Regions from separate parts of the Homo sapiens genome. Here region 2 is linked to region 1. Evidence: promoter capture Hi-C in 16 types of primary human blood cells and fetal thymus (Javierre and others, 2016). All regions are on one chromosome and are shown on one strand. The core of a region is centred on a gene start or on the middle of the fragment in contact, and the rest is flanking DNA. Distances in the headings are between cores, read along the strand shown.

Evidence for each region. Contacts are between HindIII fragments. The CHiCAGO score rates a contact against its expected background, and 5 or more counts as called.
Region 2: the fragment with the promoter of PLCD4 here is called in contact with the fragment with the promoter of PRKAG3 in region 1 in 2 of 17 cell types (erythroblasts and activated CD4 T cells); the score reaches 6.5 in erythroblasts.

Annotation. Positions count from the first base shown.
Region 1 is chr2:218,829,832-218,836,231 of GRCh38, reverse strand. PRKAG3 (protein kinase AMP-activated non-catalytic subunit gamma 3) reads left to right here and starts at 4,429. Exons shown (of 14, transcript NM_017431.4): 1 at 4,429-4,494; 2 at 4,857-4,896; 3 at 5,331-5,486; 4 at 5,851-6,254. The coding sequence starts at 4,462. The HindIII fragment of the contact is 3,600 bases long and covers 1,644-5,243 here.
Region 2 is chr2:218,606,276-218,612,005 of GRCh38, reverse strand. PLCD4 (phospholipase C delta 4) reads right to left here and starts at 4,107. Exons shown (of 16, transcript NM_032726.4): 1 at 3,936-4,107. The HindIII fragment of the contact is 12,670 bases long and covers 3,617-5,730 here.

The sequences.
Region 1 (6,400 bases), core at 3,180-5,679:
TCCCAGGTTCAAGTGATTCTCCCGACTCAGCCTCCCGAGTAGCTGGGACTACAGGCATGCATCACCATGCCCAGCTAATTTTTTGTATTTTTAGTAGAGATGGGGGTTTCACCATGTTGGCCAGACTGATTTCAAACTCCTGACCTCAGGTGATCTGCTCGCCTCAGCCTCCCAAAGTGCTGGGATTATAGGCATGAGCCGCTACGTCCGGCCAAGTCTTCTGTTTCTTTGTTAACTCTGATATCAATTAGAATTCTTTCAGCTGCAAGTGACAGAAGACTCAATTCAAACTGCATTAAGCAAAAAAAAAAAAACCATTCTATTGGTTCATGTAACTCAAAAACCAAGTGGTGGATCTTCAGGTACAGTTTGATCCAAGGACGCAATGAATGTCAGGAGAACCTGGTCTTTTTAGTCATAGTGGCTATTTTGCCTTTTGTTTTGGCTTCACCTTCAGGCAGCTCCACTCTGCATAGTAGCATCCAGAATCTCCACACTTACATCCTTACAGTTCCAAAGGCAGTGGGAAAGAGTTTCTAACTCCAGCAAAAGTCCCAGGATTCACCCCTATTGGACTAATTCTGTCAATGCCCACTTCACTGTGGCCAGAGGCATTTGGAGTGCTAATTGGCTACAACTGAACCAGAGGAATACTTCGTGGAACCCACAGTTGAGCCCTTCTGAAAATCATGTGCTGCAGGTGAATTGAGGGAATGTGGTTTCCTAAAGGAAAACCCAGAAGTTTGCCAAAAGATGGGGTAAATGGATACTGGGTATAGAAAAGCAACAACTGTCCACTACAATTCCCAATTGCTCACAGAAAAAGACTCAGTAATGGGGCCTGTGGCGCAGACTAAATTGCATTAACAAGGTGCTGGTTCTTTCCAGGTCCTTCAGACATTTGCACAGATGCTGCTCCGTCTAGCCACACACAAACAGGACAGAGCAGTTGTGTCCTGTGATGGATATGAAGGCTGCTCTCCCAGCCTCCCAACTGCTCTGGCCTAGGGGACCCTATTTGTGATTTATTCAGTAATGGGTCTCATCCAGGCTACTCTCTTGGCCTCCTCAAGCTGTTTTTCCTCCTCCTGATATAAAAATAACACTTAAACAGGTTCCCCAACCCCATGTCCGAGACAAATCAGATCTCCAGAGATAGCAGCCAAATTCACCCTAGGGTCAGGGTGCAGGGTCCTTATTATATACCCAGTCTGCGAGTGAGCCAAGAAGTAGGGTTTCCAGAAATATGATGCCATGGCCAGAGGCTAAAATCAATCACCCGAGGAGTATTTATTACCCAACTGAAGCCAGTACCTCCTGCTGATTTGCCCTGCCAGACGATGAGTGGAGGCAGGCTTGTGGTCAGAGCAGGGTGGAGATCTGAGAGGCGAAAGGCAGGTGTAGGGTGAGAGAAGGGGCAAGGCAGAGCTCTTCTTGAAAACTGTGAAGTTGCTATGCTTTTAGTGTTGAGCAGTGCTGGTGTGTACCCCCAGCTGGAGTCCTCCTCCACCCCAACCTTGACAGCAGCAGGAGATGGCTACTGAAGGGTCAGAGCCCTCCCGTGCCTGCCTGCCTGCCTGCCTGCCTTCAAAGCCTCATGGTTGGAGGTATAGAGGGGGCAGGTCTGTGTCTTCCATAAAGCTTAGTGGTTATAAATGTGGTGCCTGAGTCTGGGTTTGATTCTTGGCTCCATCCCACTAGCTTTGAGATTTTGATCAAGTTACTTAATCTATTTATGCCTTGGTTTTGTCATCTGTAAAATTGTAATAGTCAAAGTATTTCCCTCACAGGGTTGCAAGGGATTACACAGGACATGGCATATAATGTGTTTTGCACAGTGTGTAGTAGACACTAAGCACTGCACGAACATGCAGGGTCATTATCTACATATGTAATTCCTAATCCTACCTCAATCCTGCAACGTAGATGTATTAGTTAGAGAGAGGCTTGGCTGCTATAACAAAGGTTCAATTTGTCGATCGTTTAAACAAGACAGAAATTTATTTATCTCTAACATAACAATCCAGAGGTAGGCAGACCAGGACAGGGGTGGGGGATGTTCTATCATTTTCAAACTGCATTTTCCATCGTTGGGTTCAGTTTGCTGCTCCGGCTCCCATCATCGTATTGTAATTCTAGCCAGTAAGAAAGGGTTCCCTTTCCTCCTAGGGGTACCCTTCTATCATATAATATATATGTATATAACATTGCTGCTCAAATTTCATGGTCAAACTTAGTCATATGGCCATACTATCTGCAAAAGAAGCTGTGAAATATAATCTTGCATTCAGTTAAAATTGTAGTGGTTTACTAACAGCAGAAGAAGGGTAGAAGAGATATTGCTCTACTAGAGCTCACCCATCTGGCCATCCCACACAAAAAACACAGTTACTGCCCTTCAAAAGGAGGCAAGTCAGAGTTCCATCTGAGTACGGCACCCAGCTGAGAGTCCAGGCTATCTGAGGGGTGGGCAGTTCCTTCTTCCAGGTAGATGGACACCCTATGGTCTGGTGACCTAAAAACTAACAGGCAGGTGATTTGCACCTCCTACTCCCCACAGACAACAGTGGAGGAAGAAGAGGGTAAGCTCAATTAAAACACTGACTCATGCTGAGCACACTGCTACGCGCCTATAGTCCCAGCTACTGAGATAGGAGGATCATTGAGCCCAGGAGTTTGAGACTAGCGTGGACAACATAGTGAGACACTGTCTCAAAAAAAAAAATCCACTTGCAACTGAAAGAATGGCAAACACCCAGCAGCTGCTGGATCTTAATTATCAAATCTGGTTGGGCAGGAATGGCTAAGCCCTTTCCTGGCAGTGGAGTAAGTTCTTGGTCAGCACATTTGACCACCCCTGGTTCTGCTCTCTGGGAAGATCTCCCCTTTCCACTCTCCTATGTAGCCTCTGGCTTTTCCTGCTGGGAAGCTGTTGTTTATCCAATATCCTTTGTCCCACACTGGCAAACTTGTGCTTTCTGCAGTCCTTCCAGCCTTCACAGCCCTCTTCCTGCTGGTGCGGATTTGGAGGGCTGGGAATAAGGCAAGGGAAGGGGTGTCAAACCAGGCTTTGCTGATCAGGCTTATGGTTTCTTTGCCAATACAACACCCTCACAATCTTAGAAGCCTTCTGAGTGGCTCCATGTTTGAGTAACCACAGCCAATGGCCTCATGTAGACCTTATTTTTATGCTTGAACACTCTGGACTTGGTGTTCTTCCTACTCTCCTTTCTCTCAAACTGGTGGTGGCTATCTTGAGTCCATTTGAAAAAACATGCTTGGTGTGAAGGAAATTCTCTTACACTGATCTCTGTCCTCTGAGCCAGTTCCCACTGTCCAGTGAGCAGATGTCCTTGAGAAAGGCTGGGGACCACAGGAACAGCCCTGGCCAAGGCTGTCCTCCCAACTCCATTCTCCTCCACCCTCCCCATTGGCAGAGTAGGAACATTGAGGGTTGATGGAAAACACATGTAATAAACTCAGACAGAAATTCACCAGTCTGTTGTTGAGTGTCCACTCCAGGGCCAGGGCTGGGATGGAAGAGGCTGGAAGGAGGAGAGAAAGGGAGGGGCAGAGAGAGGAAAGCCGGAGCAGCTGGGTCAGCATTCCCAATCCGGACATTGACTCAGGCTCCGGGAATGCCAAGGAAGAGGGTGGCAGCTACTGGAGCCAGGCTGGGATCCTGTTGGCACCAGGGATGTAGGCACAGCACTCACAGAGGGTTGGGGGCTGGGACACCTGCACACCCAGGCATATCTCCCAACCACAGGTGGAAACAGATGTCTCTTCCCCTGCGGGGAGCTCTGAGTGCTCCCCACGCCTTCGAGGTGATTCTCACAGCTCTTCACCTGCCTGAAACACCCACTCCATCTCCTTCACCTGAGAGAGGGACACACTCCAGGGACTCAAATCTGGACATCTGGACATACACTAGCTGCTCTCCTGGACTACCCACAAACCCCTTGCCTCATCTCCAGCCTCTGAGCTGGCTGCAACTTGCCCTTTCTAACTCCAGCACCACCCTCTACTGAAATTAGAACAAGGAAGAAAGTTATGCTGATCTGCCTCCATGTTCCCTTCTTTGGTGCCTGATAAAGATGAGGGAGGCTCTTGGAATAGGGGCTCAGGACTCTGAGAGCCCAACTCTGCTCAATGACCATGTTCCCACATGCTCCAAGCCACATCCCCTCAAAAAGGGTCCCTCTAGCTTGTCCTCAGTGACCCAGGAGGCAGCTGAGGACCAAGTACCCAGATTATCCGGTGCGCCCCTTCCCTCCCAGCAACCCCCAGCCTTCAGGGCTGTAGCAGCTGAGCAAATGGGGGCCCCTCCCTCTCATTGCCTGACACCCAATCAGAGAGAAACCGATCCTGGCAGGGCAGGGTGCCCGGGGCCGGGCCCAGAATAGTGCAGCCCAGCCACAGTGTCGCACACTTGCTCTCAGTTGGTCTGGGGCTGGCCACATGGAGCCCGGGCTGGAGCACGCACTGCGCAGGGTATGGGGGTCCCAGGGGAGCCGGAGCCGGGGCAGCTGAGGCCAGAAGATTGAGCGCACGGGCTGTGAATGTGTGTGTGGGCGTGTGTGTCTTCTGGTGTGTGTTTGGTCTGGATTTTCTCGTGAATATGGGCATGTGCATGTTTGGGCATATGTATTGTGAGTGTGTGTGGTTCTGTGTGCCTGGGAGTGTTTGGATGTGTGTGTTTCTGTGTGTGTTTGTGTATGGCTGCATGTCTGTGTATGGCGTGTGTCTGAGCGTGTGTATTGGTGTGCATGGGTGTGTAGGCGTGTGTTCAGGGAGAAGGGGTTTGGGAATGTAAGGCACTTTCCCCACTCCTTCAGAAACTCTTCTCCCCACAGACCCCTTCCTGGAGCAGCCTTGGGGGTTCTGAGCATCAAGGTAGGGAGAATGCCCCCTCCCTGGGGCCTAACCTCTTCCCCCACCTCCTTGTCCCCCACTTTTCTGGGACCCCAATTCCCTCCCAGCCTGGCTTTTATCTTCCTCCTTTTGGTCTTTCTTCCTCATTGTTCTTCCTCCTTTCCCCAGGTGTGTTTCCCTCACCTCCAATTTCCTCTTTTCAGAAGTGACTTTCCCACTTACTTGCTGTGTGATTTGCAGCAAATTGCTTAACCTCTCTGAATTTCTGGTCCCTCACTAGCAAAATAGGGATGATAATAATGCCTGCTTTATAAGGCTGCTGTAAGTTTTAAATGAGAAATATGTTGGAGAAAAGCCCATTGGAAGCTTGCAAATCCTAAAGATTATGAATAACATTTGAATTGATTTTGATGCATTACTCCCTATTAACCAAACAGGCCCCATTCCCCTTCCAGAGATGAGCTTCCTAGAGCAAGAAAACAGCAGCTCATGGCCATCACCAGCTGTGACCAGCAGCTCAGAAAGAATCCGTGGGAAACGGAGGGCCAAAGCCTTGAGATGGACAAGGCAGAAGTCGGTGGAGGAAGGGGAGCCACCAGGTCAGGGGGAAGGTGAGGCCAAGGCCAGTTCTGGGGAGGTGGGAGCCAGGGGAGTGGGAAATCCCAGAGGAGCCTGGGTCTGGTCTCTACCTCAGGTCCCTCCATAACACAGAGTTGGACCCAACCTTCATCTTGTGGCCTCAGTCTCCCTACATAGTAGAGAACAAGGCACTGCAGTGCCAGAGGCCAGCATGGCCAACTCAGAAAGATGGGACAGAGCCACTACCTGGGGCGACTCTCAGGTCAGCCCCTCACCTGCAAATAGGGCCACAGCATCCAGGCTTCCCACTGCTGCTGTGAGATGAATGGCGACAGCAGATGAGAACGTGCTTTGGAAGATGGAGTTACTGTCCTCTTCCCCTCCTCCCCCAAACAGGTCCCCGGTCCAGGCCAGCTGCTGAGTCCACCGGGCTGGAGGCCACATTCCCCAAGACCACACCCTTGGCTCAAGCTGATCCTGCCGGGGTGGGCACTCCACCAACAGGGTGGGACTGCCTCCCCTCTGACTGTACAGCCTCAGCTGCAGGCTCCAGCACAGATGATGTGGAGCTGGCCACGGAGTTCCCAGCCACAGAGGCCTGGGAGTGTGAGCTAGAAGGCCTGCTGGAAGAGAGGCCTGCCCTGTGCCTGTCCCCGCAGGCCCCATTTCCCAAGCTGGGCTGGGATGACGAACTGCGGAAACCCGGCGCCCAGATCTACATGCGCTTCATGCAGGAGCACACCTGCTACGATGCCATGGCAACTAGCTCCAAGCTAGTCATCTTCGACACCATGCTGGAGGTGAGGCCACGGCTCTGCCCAACCTGTACTCACTCTCCATCCACACGGTGCTGCAGCCGCCACTCCCACCCTGCAGGATGCCCTGCTGAGCCAGGTGCCCCTGCAAGCCCCCTGAAAGGACTCCTTCTTAGCACTATGGAGGCCAG
Region 2 (5,730 bases), core at 2,858-5,357, 220 kb after region 1:
AATGAGCCAAGATCGCACCACTGCACTCTAACCTGGCGACAGAGCTAGACTCCATCTCAAAAAAAAGAAAAGAAAAGAAAAGAAAGCAACAGACCTCTCTTAGGTCTAGCAGGGTGTGGTGGCTCACGCCTGTAATCCCAGCACTTTGGGAGGCTGAGGCAGGTGGATCACTTGAGGTCAGGAGTTTGAGACAAGCCTCGCCAACATAGTGAAACCCCGTCTCTATTAAAAATACGAAAAGTAGCCGGCTGTGGTGGTGCACACCTGTAATCCCAGCTACTCGTGAGGCTGAGGCAGGAGAATCACTTGAAACCAGGAGGCAGAGGTTGCAGTGAGCCGAGATTGCACCATTACACTCCAGCCTGGGTGACGGAGTGAGACTCTCTCAAAAACAACAACAAAAATTTCTTAGGTCCTCAGACTCTAGGAGAGTGAATTGGCCTGGGGCTGAAGTCTAACCTCTTCTGCCAACATCCTGGCTTATCTCCTATCTGAATTTTAGCTCCCACCTCTGGGACACAGGGACTCTAGGATGTGGTGAACTTTAGGACTGCAAGAAGATTGCATTACCTTCCCTTACGCCTGTGTCCAGGAGCCTCACAATGATGTCCTGAAACATGGGAAGCCTGAGAACCGAGCCCAAGTGCCTGAACACCCTTACTTTGGAGACTCCCTCCTCTCAAACCTGCCTTAGAAAATTATTTTTTCCTCCTTTGTCCAATTCTTCTAACCCCAAAGCTTGGCTTTGTTCTTCCAATCCTTCTCCCATTCATGAATCACTATTTTAAATCTGTATTCACATGACTGACATGTGGTCATAAGAGGGCCAGTTTCAAATCAGGGAGCCATAGAAGGTCAGAGCTGGACTTCATTTTATAGAAAAGGAGCCCGAGGACTAGAAAGGTTAGGTGAAGTAAAAAGAATTAGTGCCAGAGTCATTTAATGAGTGACAGAACTGGAATTAGAACCAAGGTCTCTGGCCGGGCACGGTAGCTCACATCTGTAATCCCAGCACTTTGGGGGGCTGAGATGGGCAGATCATGTAAGGCCAGGAGTTCGAGACCAGCCTGACCGACATGGTGAAACCCCTTCTCTACTAAAAATACAAAAATTAGCTGGGAGTAGTGGTGCACACCTATAATCTCCGCTACTTGGGAGGCTGAGGCAGGAGAATTGCTTGAACCCAGGAGGCGGAGGCTGCAGTGAGCCGAGATGGCGCCATTGCACTGCAGCCTGGGCAACAAAAGCAAAACTCTGTCTTGGGCAGGAGGAAAAAAAAAAGAACCCAGGTCTCCATACAACCAGCTCAAGGATCTCACAATGACTCTGCTCTTGGAAAGGGCCTTCTCTAGAAAACAGTTGAAGCAAGGCTAGGAATCAATAAGGGACATTGGTATTTTGTCTCTCCTCTCCATCACTTTCTGTTCCCTCTGTACTCTGAATAGTCTTGCTTTTCTTTGGTCTCATTTTCTTTATTTCTATTTATTTATTTTTTTTTGAGACGGAGTGTCACTCTGTCGCCCAGGCTGGAGTGCAGTGGCATGATGTTGGCTCACTGCAACCTCCGCCTCCTGGGTTCAAGTGATTCTCCTGCCTCAGCCTCCCAAGTAGCTGGGATTACAGGTGTGTGCCACCACGCCTGGCTAATTTTTTTTATTTTTAGTAGAGACGGGGTTTCACTATGTTGGCCAGGCTGGTCTCAAACTCCTGACCTCAGATGATCCACCCGCCTCAGCCTCCCTAAGTGCTGGGGTTACAGGGGTGAGCCACCATGCCCAGCCTCTTTCATCTCATTTTCTTTCCTTTCCCTATCCCATGCCTGACCTGGTCCTTTTCCTTTCTTCCCAGTTCACTATAAAAAAAATTTTTTTTAAATTATTATTTGTTTTGTATGGAGATGGGGTCTCCCTGTGTAGCCCTAGTTTTAAACTCCTGGCCTCAAGCAATCCTCCTGCCTGGGCTTCCCAAAGTGCTGGGATTACAGGCGTGAGCCATCATGCCCAGCCCCATCCCCACCTCTCTCTCTCTCTTAATCCTCTGTCTTCCTGTTTGCTCACCTAGGTCAGTCTCTCCTCTTCTCTTCCTTCTCCTCATCCCTTCTCCCCATCACCTCTTCCAGTTGGTTCCCTCTTTTGACTCCACTAATTCGCAATGGCTCTGAGTCTCATCTCCTTTGAGAATTTTGAGACTGTGGTCCAGAAGGGAGGACACTTGGGTTCAGAACTCAGTAGCATGCGTGTCCCTCTGCTCAGCCTCACTTTTCTCTGTATCCTAGGAGATTGACCAAACAAACTGCCCAGACAATGTGAGTTAGAACCTAGGTATTCTAGGTCTTGCTGTTTCCTCTGGTGTCTAATGGTAGAATGGGAAGGATGCCCACAGCTGATGCAGGTGCAATGAGAAGAGAAGGAACAAAGGGTTTGGGAGTGAGGGCACTGGGAAAAACACAGAGGATGACATCTGATAATAAGAAAGGTTGGTCTTAAATATTAACTCATAGACACATATATGGAGATCTTCAATGATATGGTAATTACCTCTCTAATACAGATACGAAAATAGGGACACAAAATGAGATGGGAAGTAGCCCAGAGCTGCAGAGCGCAATTTGGTCCTCAATTTCTAAGAGACTTCATGTCACCTAGAGATGGACTTTGGCAGAGTTACCAATGGCACCAAGGAGATTACAGTGGGATTCAGGGTGTCTCAGGTCTCTCTGAGGGGCAAGAAAGAAGAGAATCATTTTGTCTACTCCCTTGCTTCTGAGAAGGATTATGCCTAACCTGGTTCATATAGAGGACAAATTGGCTCTGGTCACAGGTCACAGAATGTTGGAGCTTGAAGGTTCTTTTTTTTTTTTTTTTTGAGACAGAGTCTCGCTGTCGCCCAGGCTGGAGTGCAGTGGTGCGATCTTGGCTCACTGCAGGCTCCGCCCCCCGGGGTTCACGCTATTCTCCTGCCTCAGCCTCCCGAGTAGCTGGGACTACAGGCACCCGCCACCCACCTCGCCCGGCTAATTTTTTGTATTTTCAGTAGAGACGGGGTTTCACCATGTTAGCCAGGATGGTCTCAATCTCCTGACCTCGTGATCCACCCGCCTCGGCCTCCCAAAGTGCTGGGATTACAGGTGTGAGCCACCGCGCCCGGCCAGTTCTTTTATAACACATCTAATCCAGACATTCCCAGCTACATCAATAGCCTCTGGAATGTCTTGAAATTGAGATCCTTAGCCCTACCCAAAAATCTACCAGATCAGAGTTACCCAGGGTGGGGCTCAATAATATATTTATTTTTAACAAGTACACTTGGTACACAGGCAAGTCTGGGAAACCCTAAACTCTCTCGTATCACAGATCTGGAAGTTGTGGCTCCAGGTCCCGTAGCTAGTTAATGGCACAGGCAGAACTAGAAGTAGGTTTTCTTACCAACGTAGCACTCTGGTGCACTAAGAAACTGCTCTGGCCCATGGAATAGGCAAAGAACAAGTTCTTTAGAGAACTTTCTAAGGGACTTTCATAACTCTCTCTATTACCAGGGATCTCTGATTCCCCATGGTTCTTGGCCAACCCCTATTTTGCAACCCTCAACAAACTGTTAATGAATCTATGCTAAAGCTTAGCTACTCCAATTTTTTCTTCCCTTATTGGGGGTGGAGTTCACCTCAGGAGTGGCTAGGGTTGGCACTTCTGGCCCTGCATAAGCTAAGAGGTACCTCATATAAAGGGCGACTGACACAGCCAGGAGGAAAGCTGTAAGGATAAAGGAGGATAAGCTAGAGAGAACCAGGAGGTGGGAGCCCTGTAGAGCTGTTGGGATGAGGAAAGGAGTCTAGGGTACAATTTAATCAGGGTGGATAAGCATCTAGAGGGCAGAGGTAGGGACTCAGGGAAGACAGAGCTTAGAGCAGAGGGTAGTCAGAGCTTCCAGATCCTTACCGTGGGCAGGAGAGCAGAATAGCAGTCCTGTGTTTCCTGTGTCTGTGAGCTGTGCCTCCCGAGCTCTGCGATGCTGTGGGATCAGGAAGCCCAGCCTGGCTCCTTTTCTCTTTTGCTCCCCTTGCACTGGCTTGTTTCCTCCCCTCTTCTACAGCAGCTGGCTGCTGTGACTGGCAAGTTATAGCCGGAGGGAAGCAGTAAGAAGGGGAGAGGTGTGAGCTCTCTCCAGTCCAGCCCATCCAACTCTTAAAGGCCCAGGACACTGGTCAATGTGAGGGAGTAGTGGGGGTGGGGTGGGGAGAGAAGGATTAAGGGCAGCACATCTCCAGGGAGGAGCCTGGCTGCCCTTCATCTTGATGCCAGCCCTCATTGACCCCAATCCCGCAGTAGCTCTCAAAGTGAAGGGAGTGTCCTCAGTTGCAGTGCTCTGTGAATCACTGCTTTTCATTCTGGTTCCTGCATGTAATACGGCTGTTTTTGCCCTTATTTAATCTGGCTCCTTTCCATAGTGTCTGTTTCCACTGGCCTGCTCCTGTATCTCTGAATCCTGCCTGCAGGGCACTCACTGTAGCTCCGTCCCACAGGAAAAGAAAGAAATAAGATGGGAAAAGAGGAAGACGAGGAGAAGGGGAGGACAGGAATGATGATAGAATGTAGAGGGACAGATAGGTTAGAATCTATGTATATTTTAGGCACTCATTAAATATTGAAAGAATGCATAGATGAACGTGTGAAACAGCTCATTTTTTTTTAAACATCCATTCGTTCCTCCTACAAGCATCTGTTCAGCACCTCTGGGTTATAAGTCATAGCCCTCAGAATGGAGGTAGCACCTTCAGGACATACATGCATGTTTATAAAGATGTGTGCAGAGATGAAGCATAGGCTCAGAGGGGAACTGTGTGAAATGGTGTAATTTTAAGTGTGCTGACGTCTGGCTGCCTATCATGGTTTCCACAAGCATCCCTCAACTGCCTAATATTTTACCATTAGTGATTATAGCTACATTTTTTAGTCCCATTAAAATAAAATCCTCCTAAGTGATTACTATAAAAGTCAGGATAGTGGTTACTGTTGGGAGGGGGAGGAATTGTGGTGAGATGGGACACAGAGGGGGCTTCTGGCATAGCTAGCTAAACTCTATTTCTAGTTCTAAGTGCTAACAAGGGTCTTCACTTAATAATTTATTAAGCTATACATTCTCTTGATATATTTTCTATATGTGTTTTTAAATTTATTTTTTTAGGTCTCATTTAAAATATCATATATCTGTGTTAACTTTTGAAGGCTTAATGATTTTAAATATACATATATGTATATGTATATGTGTGTGTGTGTATATATATATATATATATATTTTTTTTTTTTTTTTTTTTTTTTTTTGAGATAAGAGTCTCGCTGTTGCCCAGGCTGGAGTGCAATGGCGTGATCTTGGCTTACTGCAACCTCTACCTCCCGGGTTCAAGCAATTCTCCTGTCTCAGCCTCCTGAGTAGCTGGGATTACAGGTGCATGCCACCACCCCCAGCTACTTTTTTTTGTATTTTAGTAGAGACGGGGTTTCACCGTGTTGCCCAGGCTGGTCTTGAGCTCCTGAGCTCAGGCAATCCACCTGCCTTGGCCTCCCAAAGTGCTAGGATTACAGGCGTAAGCCACTGCACCCAGCCGATTATAAATAATTTTTTAAAAATTCAATCCTAAGGTCAAAGTAGATTTTAAATAATTTATACCTAGGTTGGGTTGTCTATATTCTTTACTGAGAGCAGGTTTTGATAGAAGAGTAGTAGTATGAAGG